Regions from separate parts of the Homo sapiens genome. Here region 1 is linked to region 2. Evidence: promoter capture Hi-C in human tissues and cell types (Jung and others, 2019). All regions are on one chromosome and are shown on one strand. Each heading gives the region's core, a stretch centred on a gene start or on the middle of the fragment in contact. The rest is flanking DNA. Distances are from core to core; before and after follow the strand shown. Region 1 overlaps MAST2 (microtubule associated serine/threonine kinase 2). Region 2 holds the start of IPP (intracisternal A particle-promoted polypeptide).

Region 1 (6,239 bases), core at 191-2,690, 100 kb before region 2:
TAATCCCACCACTTTGGGAGGCCGGGGTGGGTGGATCACTTGAGGTCAGGAGTTCAACACCAGCCTGGTCAACATGGTAAAAACCTGTCTCTACTAAAAATACAAAAATTACACAGGCGTGATGGTACACACCTGTAATCCCAACTACTCAGGAGGCTGGGCAGGAGAATCACTTGAACCCAGGAGGTAGAGGTTGCCGTGAGCCGAGATCGAGCCACTGCACTATGGCCTAGGTGACAGAGACTCTGACTCAAAAAAAAACAATAATTATTTTTAAAAAATTAATAAATGTGTTATGCAAAACACTCTGTTAAAAAGAATAAAAAAGTTATTTGCAAACCACATATCCAACAAGGAATTTATATTTAGAATACATACAAAACTTTTAAAAGTTTATAGTTTTAGGGCATGGGGCTCATATCTGTAATCCCAGCACTTTGGGAGGCCAAGGCAGGTGGATCACCTGAGCTCAGGAGTTCGAGACCAGCCTGACCAACATGGTGAAACCCTGTCTCTACTAAAAATACAAAAATTAGTGAGCATGGTGGTAGGCGACTGTAATCCCAGCTACTCGGGAGGATGAGGTATGAGAATCACTTTAACCTGGGAGACAGAGGTTGCAGTGACCCAAGATCATGCCACTGCACTCCAGCCTGGGTGACAGAGATACCATCTCAACAAAAAATAATTGTTTTTAATTTAAAAAAAAAGTTAATAGCTTTAAAAAAATCCATTGCCAGTGGTGCAGATTCAAAAAACAAACACATAAAATCTATCAACATGTGAGTAAATAACCAAGTGATGTGTGACCATACAATGGAATACTACACACAAAGAGGGAAAGAACTGAGTGGATACATGCAACAATTTAGACGGATCTCAAAAACATTATACTTACTGAAAAAAATCTCAAAAGGTTATATACTATATGGTTCCATTTATATAATATTCACATAAAGGCCAGGCATAGTGGCTCACCCTTTTAATTCCAACACTTTGGAAGGCTGAGGGAGGAGGATCACTTGAGCCCAGGAGTTCGAGACCAGTCTGGGCAACATAGCAAGACTCCATCTCTACAAATTAAAAAAAAAAAAAAAAAATTAGCCAGGCATGGTGGCTTGTGCCTGTGATCCCAGCTACTCGGAAGGCTGAGGCAGGAGGATCACCTGAGACTGGGAGATGGAGGCTGCAGTGAGCCATGACTGCAAAACCACACTCCAGCCTGGGGGACAGAGTGAGACCCTGTATCAAAAGGAAATATAAATATAAATATAATTCACATAGAGAAGAACACATTAGTGGTTGCAAGAAGATAAAGACGGGGTGGGAGTGCAAATATAAAAGGGCAGCCCAAGCGAATTCCTTTGTAATGACAGTACGGTTCTGTATGTTGATTGTGGTGGTGGCCATTACACAAATCTATTCATGGGATGAGATTGCATGACTTGTACATACACACACAAACATATACAAGTGTATATAAAGACCAAATAAGGGCTATAATCTAGTTAATGATATTGTACAAATGTCATTTTCATGGTTTTAATATTGTATTATAGCTATATAAGATGACACTATTGGTGAAAGCTGGGTGAAGGGTTCATAGTACTCTGCACTATTTTTGCAACTTCCTATGCAACCATAAGTATTTTTTTAAAGGCTAAATAACTGAAAAAAAAGGAAATTCCTATATTTTCATTTTAGTATCTCCCTATAAATGCATGTTACTTTATTCCCAAAATGCCCCAACACATCTCAGAAACGTTTCTGTTTGGAGCTTTTTGCCCTCTTTAAAAAATAGTCCATTAATTCTATTTGCCAGCAGCAATCTCAGTCCCTCAGCTCAGGTAATTCATTTCAAGTAGGGCTGAAAATTTTTTCTATTAGGTCAAGCAGAAAAAAGGAAGTCAGATGAATAGATGTAGAAAAAGCTTTCAATAAAATCCACCATCCCTTCATGATAAAAACCCTCAACAAACTAGGCATCCAAGGAACATATCTCAAAATAAATAAAAGCCACCTATGACAAATCCACAGCCAACATCATGCTGAATGAGAAAAACTGGAAACATTCCTCTTGAGAACTGGAACAAGACAAGGATGTCTACTCTCCTGACTGCTGGTCAACAGAGCACTGGAAGTTCTAGCCACAGCAATCACACAAAGGAAAGAAAGAAAAGGCATCCAAACAGCAAAGAAGTCCAGCTATCTTTCTTTGCAGACAATATGATTTTATACCTGGAAAACCCTAAAGACTCCGCCAAAGGCTCCTGGAACTGATAAATGGCTTCCCAGTTTTAAGATACAAAAGCAATGTACAAAAATCAGTAGCAATTCTATATACCAGTAACATTCAAGCTGAGAGCCAAGTAAAGAATGCAGTCCCATTTACAATAGCTACAAAAAAAAGAAAAAGAAAAAGTACCTAAGAATACATCTAACCAAGGAGGTAAAAGATCTCAACAAGGAGAACTACAAACACTGCTAAAAGAAATCACAGGTGACACAAACAAAAGGAAAAAAATTTCATGCTCATGGATTAGAAGAATCAATACTGTTGAAACAGCCATACTGTCCAAATCAATCTACAGATTCAGCATAATTCTTATCAAACTACCAATGTCATTTTTCACAGAACTAGAAAGAACTATTCTAAAATTTACATGAAACCAAAAAAGAGCTCAAATAGCCAAAACAATCCTAAGCAAAAAGAACAAAGCTGCAGGGATTACATTACCCAGCTTCAGACTATACTATAAGGCTACAGTGTTTAAAAAAAAAAAAAAAAAAAAGCATAGTACTGGTACAAAAGCAGACACATAGACCTATAGAACAGAATAGAGAACCCAGAAATAAAGCCACACACCTACAATCTTCTGATCTTTAGCAAAGTCAACAAAAATAAGCAATGGGGAGAGGACTCTATTCAATAAATAGTGCTGGGATAGCTGGCTAGGCACATGCAGAAGAATGAAACTGGAACCCTACCTTTCACCACATACAAAAATTAACTCAAGATGGATTAAAGATTTAAATGTAAGACCTCAAACTGTAAGAATCCTAGGGAAAAAACAAACAAACAAACTAGGAAACACCATTCCAGACACTGACCTTGGGAAACAATTTATGACTGAGTCCTCAAAAGCAATTGCAACAAAAACAAAAATTGTCAAGTGGGACCTAATTAGACTAAAGAGTTTCTGCACAGCAAAAGAAACAATCAGTAGAGTTAACAGCCTACAGAATGGGAGAAAATATTTGCAAACTATGCATCTGACAAAGGTCTAATATCTAGACTCTATAAAGAACTTAAACAATTAAACAAGCAAAAAACAACCCCATCACAAAATGGGCAAAAGACATGAACAGACACTTCTCAAAAGAAGATATACAGGCAGCCAACAAACATGAAAACATGCTCCACATACTAACCATTTGAGAAATGCACATCAAAACCACAATGAGATACCATCTTATGCCAGTCAGAATAGCTATTATCAAAAAGCAAAAAAACAACAGATGCCGGCAAGACTGCAGATAAAAGGGAACACGTATACACTGTTGGTAGGAATGTAAATTAGTTTAGCACTCTGGAAAGTAGTTGGGAGACTTCTCAAAGAGCCTAAAACTGAACTACCATTCAACCCAGCAATCCTATTACTGGGTAAATATACAAAAGAAAACAAATCATTCTACCAAAAAGACACATGTACTCACATGTTAATCACAGCACTATTCACAATAGTAAAGACATGGGATCAACCTAGGTGCCCATCAACAGTGGACTAGATAAAGAAAATATGGGCGGGGCACAGTGGCTCACGCCTGTAATCCCAGCACTTTGGGAGGCTGAGGCAGGCAGATCACGACGTCAGGAGATCCAGACCATCCTGGCTAATATGGTGAAACCCCATCTCTACTAAAAATACAAAAAATTAGCTGGGTGTGGTGGCGGGCGCCTGTAGTCCCAGCTACTCCAGAGGCTGAGGCAGGAGAATGGTGTGAACCTGGGAGGTGGAGCTTGCAGTGAGCCTAGATCGCGCCACTGCACTCCAGCCTGGGTGACAGAGAGAGACTCCATCTCAAAAAAAAAAAAAAGAAAAGAGGGGGTCCAGCTTTAATCTTCTGCATATGGCTAGCCAGTTATCCCAGTATCATTACTTGTTTTTGTCAGTTTTGTCACAGATCACATGGTCATAGGTGTGCAGCTTTATTTCTGCCGGAAATAAAGTTCCATTGATCTATGTGCCTTTTGTACCAGTAACATGCTGTTTTGGTTACTGTATCCCTATAGTACAGTTTGAAGTTGGGTAACGTGAGGCCCCCAGTTTTGTTCTCTTTGCTTAGGACTGCCTTGGCTATTCAAGCTCTTTTTTGGTTCCATACGAATTTTAAAATCGTTTTTTCTAGTTCTGTGAAGAATGTTCTTGGTAGTTTGATAGGAATAGCATTGAATCTGTAAACTGCTTTAGGCAGTATGGTCATTTTAATGATATTGAGTCTTCCTATCCATGAGCATGGTGTGTTTTTTCATTTGTTTTTGTCTTCTCTGATTTCCTTGAGCAGTGTCTTCTAATTCTCATTGTAGAAATCTTGCACCTCCCTGGTTAGCAGTATTCCTAGGTATTGTATTCTTTTTGTGGTAATTGTGAATGGGATTGCCTTCCTGATTTGGCTCCCAGCTGGGCTGTTGTTGGTGGATAGGAATGCTAGTGGTTTTTTGTATGTTAATTTGGTGTCCTGAAACTTTGCTGAATTTGTTTATCAGTTGAAGGAGCTTTTGGGCCAAGATGATGGGGTTTTCTACACATACAATCATGTCATCTACAAACAGGGATAATCTGACTTCTCTCTTCCTACTTGAATGCCGTTTATTTCTTTCTCTTGCCTGATTACTCCGGCTATACCCTTAACTATTTTCATAAATCCTTCAAAGACTACCTGTGTCAGGGGTCACCAAAACCATCCCCAGGTTCCATGATCCTCCAGGAGTACTCACAGGACCCTGCATATAATCAGCATATGGAAAAGGTGCATGAGGCAAAGTCTGGAGGAAACCAAGCACAAGCTTCCCAGAGTTCGCTCCCAGTGAAGTCACATAAGACACACTTATTTCTTCCAGCAACACCTAGTAACTATATCCATGAAATGTTGTCTACCAGGAAAGCTCACCAAAGACTCAGTGTCCAAAGTTTTTAATGGAGCTGCTCACACAGGCACCCTCTTGCCTACTACATACCAAAATTTCAGACTCCCAGAAGGTAAGTAAATGTTCAGCATAAATCACATTGTTTGCACAGTAAGTCACTCTTATCATTCAAGGAAATTTTTATCAGTGTAGGAAACTGTTTACCATTCAAGTTTCCAGATACCAGCCAAGGGTCGGCCTTCCGCACAAGCCTTTCTAAGGATAGTAGTCTCAGGACTGCTATATTAATGGTTTATTGTACACTACTACTATTTCTTAACATTGCTATCTCTTAAGGCCACCAGTCTACACATGCTGAAACCAGCCTTGTTCCCTATACATTCTATAGATAAGACATATTGCAAAAATGAAGAATGACAACTCAATGTTCTGGAGAAAATAAAGGAGAACATACGTTAAACTAGGAATAGGGTCTAGTAAATATTAGTTCTCTATTGCAACTAAACTATCACTAGTAATTATATTGTCTATATGATAGAATGCACCAGTAGCACTGCTTTTCAATCTTTGCTCAGCACTGTAAATATACCAGTGCGAAGCAACACATGACAATAACAGCCTAATTAAAAGACTAGTACTGGCCGGGCATAGTGGCTCACACCCTTTGGGAAGCTGAGGCGGGGAGATGGCTTGAACCCAGGAGTTCGAGACCAGACTGGGCAATATGGCAAAATCTCATCTTAAAAAAAAAGAAAAAGGGAGGCCCCAGGGGGATTTGGCACGGGTACTCCTGTGAGCTGCTGCTCTTGTGGTTGGTGAGACTGCCTGGGTCTAGAGTGCAGAGCTCCTCTGTGGCCGCGAGGACGTCACTATACCTAAAGCACCAAAGGGAAAAAGTGCAGGATGGGAAAAAAAGTCATTCATCCATATAGTAGAAAAGCAGCTCAAATTATGAGAGAGGCCCACAAATAAGAAAAAAAGGAAAAATTGAAGAATGAAAAGGCCTTGTGTTTCAATCTTATTGGTGAAAAACTGCAATGGTTTCAAAATCATCTTGATCCCCCCCAAAAAAAGATATTCAAACAAAGAT
Region 2 (7,033 bases), core at 531-3,030:
GCTTAACTTTCACAAGTGTAATCCAGAGTAAGTCATGAAATTGATTTTAGTAGTGCTGAAGTATAATTTTCTGAAGAGTAAAACCATGACTCTCTTACAAATATAAAAAAAAAGTATCAAATATTTTATTTATCTCATTAACTTATAAGGGAGCCAGTAAGATATTTAGGAATGTAGCATGAATTTGCTAAGAATCAGGAATGTTTAAATGAATTTGCTGAGAAGGGTAAAAATGGCTTAATATGCTACAGGTCAATAAAACAATGTTTTGGTGTATCTTTTCTACAGACGGGCAAGAATTATTTTAAGTACTACCAGTTTTCTGGTGAAATACTTTAGTCAATAGAAAGTCAGAGCTCCCTATGGATGCAAATCCGTCCAGCCTTACACTGAAAGGGCACACAGAATTCTCTTTTCCTCATTTCCAAGTCTTTGACAATGTTTGCTGACAATAGGTCCCTGTTAGCAGTTTTTGGTAATGAAGTAGAAAAGAAGAAATAAAAATTTAGTGCACTGCGGGTCGTAAGTGTAAACATAGTTTTGTGAAGATTTTGTTTCAGGCCAGGCACAGTGGCTCACACCTCCCAGCACTTTGGGAGGCCGAGGCGGGCGGATCACTCGAGCCCAGGAGTTGGAGACCAGCCTGGTCAACATGGCGAAATCTTGTCTCTACTAAAAATACAAAAAATTAGCCTGGCGGTGGTGGCACAGGCCTGTAGTCCCAGCTACTCAGGAGGCTGAGGTGGGAGGACTACCAGAGCCCAGGAAGTCGAGGCTGCAGTGAGCCGAGATGGCACCACTGCACTCCAGCCTGGGCGACAAAGCCAGGCCCTGTCTCATAAAAAGAGAAAGAAATACACTTTGGGAGGCCGAGTCGGGCGGATCACCTGAGGTGGGGAGTTTGAGACCAGCCTGACCAACATGGAGAAACTCAGTCTGTACTAAAAATACAAAATTAGCCGGGCATGGTGGCGCATGCCTGCAATCCCAGCTACTTGAGAGGCTGAGGCAGGAGAATCGCTTGAACCCAGGAGGCGGAGGTTGCGGTGAGCCGAGATCCGGCCATTGCATTCATTCTAGCCTGGGCAACAAGAGCGAAATTCCGTCTCAAAAAATAAAAAATAAAAATAAAAATAAAGAAATGAGATTTTATGTTAGATATATACTTCTATATATATACTCACAAGTATGTGGTATTGAGTTTGATGTAAAATATTTTTGTTCACCGTAGGCTGGGATCAAAACAGTTTGAAAGCCACTAATGTGACACATGAGGGTCAACAGTGAAAAAAACTGGACTTTTGAGTTCTTCCTTCCCCAAAATAAGTATCCCTTCAGTGCCAGGCTCAGTCATGCACTCAGAAAACGATTCGAGAGAACAGTAGAGAAGGACCGTGCCAGGTGTTCGGCTCGTCTCTGCTTAACTGAGATCCGCGGCCTTCTTGGGACACCACAAGAATCAGAGTGCAAGCGGAATGGAAAGGGCGAGCCAGCCGGCCCCAGCAGGCAGAAGCAGAGGCTTGCAGCTAAGCTGTTGATCCTTGGGGAAGCAAGCCCAAGCCCTGGGCCCCATCAGTGGGCACTGAGAGGCGCCAGCGGCCCAGTCTCCCGCGAGCGGAAGAACCTCGCGCACGCGCAGTGAAAACCCAGGGCCCGCGAAGCGTCCGAAGTCCCTTCCCACCGCCCGGCTTCGCCTCCAGTTCTCGGGGAACTGTACGGCCCAGTCACTCCCGCCTCGTCACCCCCGCCAGGTTTCCCCCGCCCTCTCCGGCCGGGGCTGGTCGCGACTGCGCGCGCAGGGCCTGAGCGGGCGCCGGAGGGAAGGGGAAGCGGCGGGTAAGGAGGGCCTGCGTTCGGGCGCGTCTGTGACGGGGTTGGGAACTTCCTCTTCTACTCCCTCCGGCTTTCCGGACCCCTGAGGACTGGAGTGAGAGAAGCCTCTAGAACTGTGTATTTCCTTGTCTTTCCTTCTGCCGCCGCAGGCCTTCCTCCGACAGTCTAAGTGTCGCCCTCCCCAGACCTTCTCGTCCGGACCGCTCCTGCCTCCCCCGCCCCAACTGGGGAATCCTGAGGCTGTGTCCCCAGTCCCTCTGTTGTCGCCTCGTTTGTCTGAGATCCCTTCCCTGACCTTTAGGTAGCGCAGGAACGATTATTAGCTTTTAGTGTAGCAGCAGTTTAGGGCTAGCTCTCTAGGCCGGGCCCCCAACTCAAGCACAAAGAACCACGGGTGTTTTGACACTTGTTCCGGGGATTCTTTCTGACACCCCTTTGCTGAAGCAGTTTCCACATGTTCCCAGCAGTGAATTCAAAGCCAGCAAACATAGGTCCGCTTTAGTTCCTCTGGGCATTTCTACCGTTTCCTAATAATCTGCTTTTTTTTTTGAGACAGTCTCGCCCCTTCTCCTAGGCTGGAATGCAGTGGTGCGATCACAACTCACTGCAGCCTCGACTTCTCAGGCTCTAGCGATCCTCTCACCTCAGCCTCCCAAGTAGCCGGAAGTACAGGCTTGCCCCATCACAGCCAGCTAATGTTAAAACAATTTTTTTTGCGGCGGGGGGCTCGCTGTATTGCCCAGGCTGGTCTTGAACTCTAGGACTCAAGCGATCCTCCCTGGCCGGGCGCGGTGGCTCACGCCTGTAATCCCAGCACTTTGGGAGGCCGAGGCGGGCGGATCACGAGGTCAGGAGATCGAGACCATCCTGGCTAACACGGTGAAACCCCGTCTCTACTAAAAATGCAAAAAATTAGCCGGGCGTGGTGGCGGGCGCCTGTAGTCCCAGCTGCTCGGGAGGCTGAGGCAGGAGAATGGCGTGAACCCGGGAGGCGGAGCTTGCAGTGAGCCGAGATCGTGCCACTGCACTCCAGCCTGGGCGACAGAGCGAGACTCCGTCTCAAAAAAAAAAAAACAAAAAACAAAAACAAAACAAAAAAAAAAAACAAAAAATCAAGCGATCCTCCCGACAGGACATCCCAAAGTGCTGGGGTTATAGGTGTGAGCCACCTTGCCCAGTCAACAATCTGCTTTTCAAGTTTGGGGCACGTGAGGCATGCAACGTCACAGAATTGTGCTCTTTTCCTTTGGAAATATGGTCACTCCACATGCCACCTTTTGGGATGACGTTCCTACTCCACTGACAGTGGGATGGTATCAGCAGTTACTGAGAAGCATGGTAACAGACTAGTATTTCTGTTGTCTGCCACCCGAATGGATATTCAGTCAACTCTTTCTTGTAGCAGGAGGCAGCATTTTAGCTCAGTGGCTGTGCTTGATGCCTTGAAGTAGGGGACAGAGGAGGTACCTTGTAATTAAACCACTAGGGTTCAAAATGTGCTGACAGAAATGTAAAACAGAAAAGGCCTGACAGTCATGTCATGTTGATAATAGTTCCAGGTCACATTTCTGTGTAGGGCCAAATACATGGTTTCTCCGCCCCCACCCCCTTTTTTTCCTTTTTTTTTTTTGAGACGGAGTCTCTCTGTTGCCCAGGCTGGAATGCAGTGGCTCCATCTCCACTCACTGCAACCTCTGCCTCCCAGGTTCAAGCGATTCTCCTGCCTCAGCCGCCCACGTCACTGGGATTACAGGCGCCCACCACCATGACTGGGTAATTTTTTGTATTTTTTAGTAGAGATGGGGTCACCATGTTGGCCAGGCTGGTCCTGAACGCCTGACCTCTGGTGATCCACCCGCCTCAGCCTTCCAAAGTGCTGGGATTAAAGGCGTGAGTCACCGCACCTGCTTTTTGTTGTTGTTGTTGTTGAGACACGGTCTTGCTCTGTTGTCCAGGCTGGAGTGCAGTGGCACCATCTCAGCTCACTGCAGCCTGGACTTCCCTGGCTCAGGTGGTCCTCCCACCTCAGCCTCCCCTGAGTAGCTGGGACTACAGGCCTGTGCTATCATGCCTGGCTAATTTTTTTGTATTTTTAGTAGAGACAGGGTTTAGCCATGTTGCCCAGACTGGTCTCAAACTCCTGGACTCAAGCGATCTGCCTGCCTCAGCCTCCTAAAAATCTGGGCTTACAGGTATGAGCCACTGTGCCCAGCCCCTTTCACCCTCTTTAAAAAATTTATTTTTCACTTCAATTTGGGTGACAGAGTGAGACCCTGTCCCCCAAAATAGATATTTTTTAAATTGGCACATAATAATTGTTTTATATTTACATTTATGAGGTACAGTGTGATATTTTGATACATGTATATAATGTATAATTATCAAATCAGGGTAATTACCATATTCATCACCTCAAACACTTCTTGCTATTATATGCTAGTTATATGTAATATGTTGATATTCTGTAGATGGTGATATGAAGTTTTAGCAGCTACCTTCGAATCTCTCAATCAAATTTCTCAATAAGTTAATTCCTAGAAAGTGATGATAATCAGCCTTGTTATTTTGACTTTGATAAGTTTAAATGCTATAAACGTAACCATTTTTTTTCTAACATCAGCCCACACTATAAGTCTTATTACCCATTGTCATTGATACCTAAATTACAAAATCTTAGTCATCTTAAATTTCCCTGTGCTATTCCATATGTCTTATATTACAGGATCTCATGGTTTTTTTTTTTTTTTTTTTTTTTTTTTTTTTTTGAGACAGAGTCTTGCTCTGTTACCCAGGCTGGAGAGCGGAGGGCAGTGGTGTGATCTCAGCTCACTGCAACCTCCATCTCCTGGGCTCAGGTGATTCTTGTGCCTCAGCCTCCCAAGTAGCTGGGATTATAGCCCTGATCCACCACGCCTGGCTAATTTTTATATTTTTAGAAGAGACGGGGTTTTGTCATGTTGGTCAGGTTGGTCTCGAACTCCTGGATTCAAGTGATCCTCACGCCTCAGCATCCCAACGTGCTGGGATTACAGGCGTGAGCCACTGTGCCCAGCAGTTTCTTTATTTAAAAAGTAATTTAGAACGTGTCCGGTGGCCTAATAATTCCTATGCAGTGTGATATGGTGGAACAGTCCTGGATTTAGAGTAAGAAGGCCTGGATTCAGATACTGAGACTGTCATACTAACATTGTATCCTTGGGGAAACTTTGAGCTTCAGTTTCCTTTTCTCTCATTTTAGATAAGATTATCTTTTCTTCTCACCTCTTAATTATTGTGAGAGTTACCATTGACATAATATGTGGAGAAGTTAAAAGTTAAAAAAAAAACCCAACCTAAGCTGTTGTTATTTCTCCTTGTTCTCATTCATTTCACAAACATTGGAAACCTAACATATGTTATATACTGGTGCTAAAGCTATGAAAGATAGTACCTGCCTTTAAAGGGCTGTGTTTCAAGGAGCTCTGAAGCGCGCGCGCGCGCTCGTGTGCGCGCGCATGCGCGCACTAAGAGTAGGGTGGTAGGGTATTTGATAAGGTAGACCTGTGCTATAGAATGTAAAACCAATAAGCTTAGGGTGAGCAACAAACTCAGATGAGTTTGGGAACATATTTCCACAATTCCAGAGGAGCAATGGGGAAAGGTTCCTGGAGGAAGTTATATTTGAACAGAGTCTTAAATTATAACAAGAATCCCGAAGGGCTTTGTGTGCTACGGGAAGTGTACACATTGAATGATTTTAAGCAGTTAGACTGATCACAACTGCTTTTCGAAAGTTGCTGTTGTCTGTGATGTGTGCTCTGTGATGTGTGCTTTGTTAACTTTCTGTCTTTGTGTTTTATTATTATTTTTTTTACTCCATCAAGAAGTGTCCTCTCCTCATACCTTAATATTAACTGTTTATCTTTCAGTTTCTAGTGCAGGTCCCATTTCTTGTGTGAAGCATTCTCCAATTATTTTAGCTTCCCTACTTATTTCATTCTCTGAAACCATATTAGAAATAGTAATAGTACCACACTTTAGTCCTTATTTGTTTTATGTCCTTAAGTAGATTTTAAGTATAGAGAATGCTTCTTATGTGTGAATAGAAAGCATGTTAAAAAAATTTTGTTGCTTGATCTCTTTGTATTTTGTTTTTCAGGGTAGTAACAGATTATGGGCAACAGTCCTTTTAATTAATCTACCGTCATCATGGCTAATGAGGACTGTCCCAAGGCTGCTGATAGTCCTTTTTCATCAGATAAACATGCCCAACTCATCTTGGCCCAAATCAATAAGATGAGAAATGGACAGCATTTCTGTGATGTGCAGCTGCAAGTTGGACAGGAAAGTTTTAAAGCTCATCGGCTGGTTTTGGCTGCCAGCAGTCCTTACTTTGCAGCTTTGTTCACTGGAGGAATGAAAGAGTCCTCAAAAGATGTTGTACCGATTCTAGGAATTGAAGCAGGAATCTTTCAGATACTTCTAGATTTCATTTACACAGGTATGTTACATGAGTCTGTTGCTTTGACTGAAGAATGATTCAATCACTCATGCACTAATGTGGAAATATAAATTGATCTAACTTATCTAGAAGGTAATTTAGCAACATGTTATTATGTGACTGAAAATTCATATCTTATGACCCGGTGCTCCTTTTCTAGGAATCTGAAGGAATTAATTAGTGATGCAGGCACATATTTACAAACCAGGATTTTATTGTAACATTATTATTATTATTTTATTTTATTCTTTTTTTGAGATGGAGTCTCTCTCTGTCGCCCAAGCTGGAGTGCAGTGGGGCGATCTTGGCTCATGGCAACCTCTGCCTCCCAGGTTCAAGCGATTCTCCTGCCTCAGCCTCCTGAGTAGCTGGGACACAGGCGCATGCCACCACACCTGGCTAATTTTTTTTTTTTTTTAATTTTTAGTAGAGACAGGATTTCACTGTGTTAGCCAGGATTGTCTCGATCTCCTGACCTCATGATCCGCCCGCCTTGGCCTCCCAAAGTGCTGGGATTACAGGCGTGAGCCACTGCGCCTGGCCTGTGACTTTATTTATAGTAGTATATAATTGAATAAAATCTTGTCTCAGTAGGTTTTATGGCTAAATAAATTATGATACATGTATAGATCTCACAAATGAGATCTAACAAATCTTAAAATATATGTATACTATTATGGAAGAATGTTTACAATATATAAAATTTTAAAAATCAGGATA

The links. The method cuts DNA at HindIII sites, captures the fragments that hold promoters and counts their contacts. A contact is called where the count stands out against the background at its distance.
Region 1: a contact is called between a fragment that was not itself captured here and the fragment with the promoter of IPP in region 2, in 3 of the 25 tissues and cell types used here (adrenal gland, aorta and mesenchymal stem cells).

Annotation. Positions count from the first base shown.
Region 1 is chr1:45,847,390-45,853,628 of GRCh38, reverse strand. The region is part of intron 3 of MAST2 (microtubule associated serine/threonine kinase 2); the gene reads right to left. It also overlaps the pseudogene TMA16P2. Among named protein-coding and RNA genes, the nearest start is that of MAST2, 47 kb to the right of the region's middle. The HindIII fragment of the contact is 4,121 bases long and covers 1-3,500 here.
Region 2 is chr1:45,745,400-45,752,432 of GRCh38, reverse strand. It overlaps IPP (intracisternal A particle-promoted polypeptide), which reads left to right and starts at 1,780. Exons shown (of 9, transcript NM_005897.3): 1 at 1,780-1,836; 2 at 5,972-6,313. The coding sequence starts at 6,022. LOC105378693 (a long non-coding RNA gene) reads right to left here and starts at 1,484. Exons shown (of 3, transcript XR_947290.2): 1 at 1,185-1,484. RefSeq lists a silencer at 1,670-1,939. The HindIII fragment of the contact is 34,877 bases long and covers 1-7,033 here.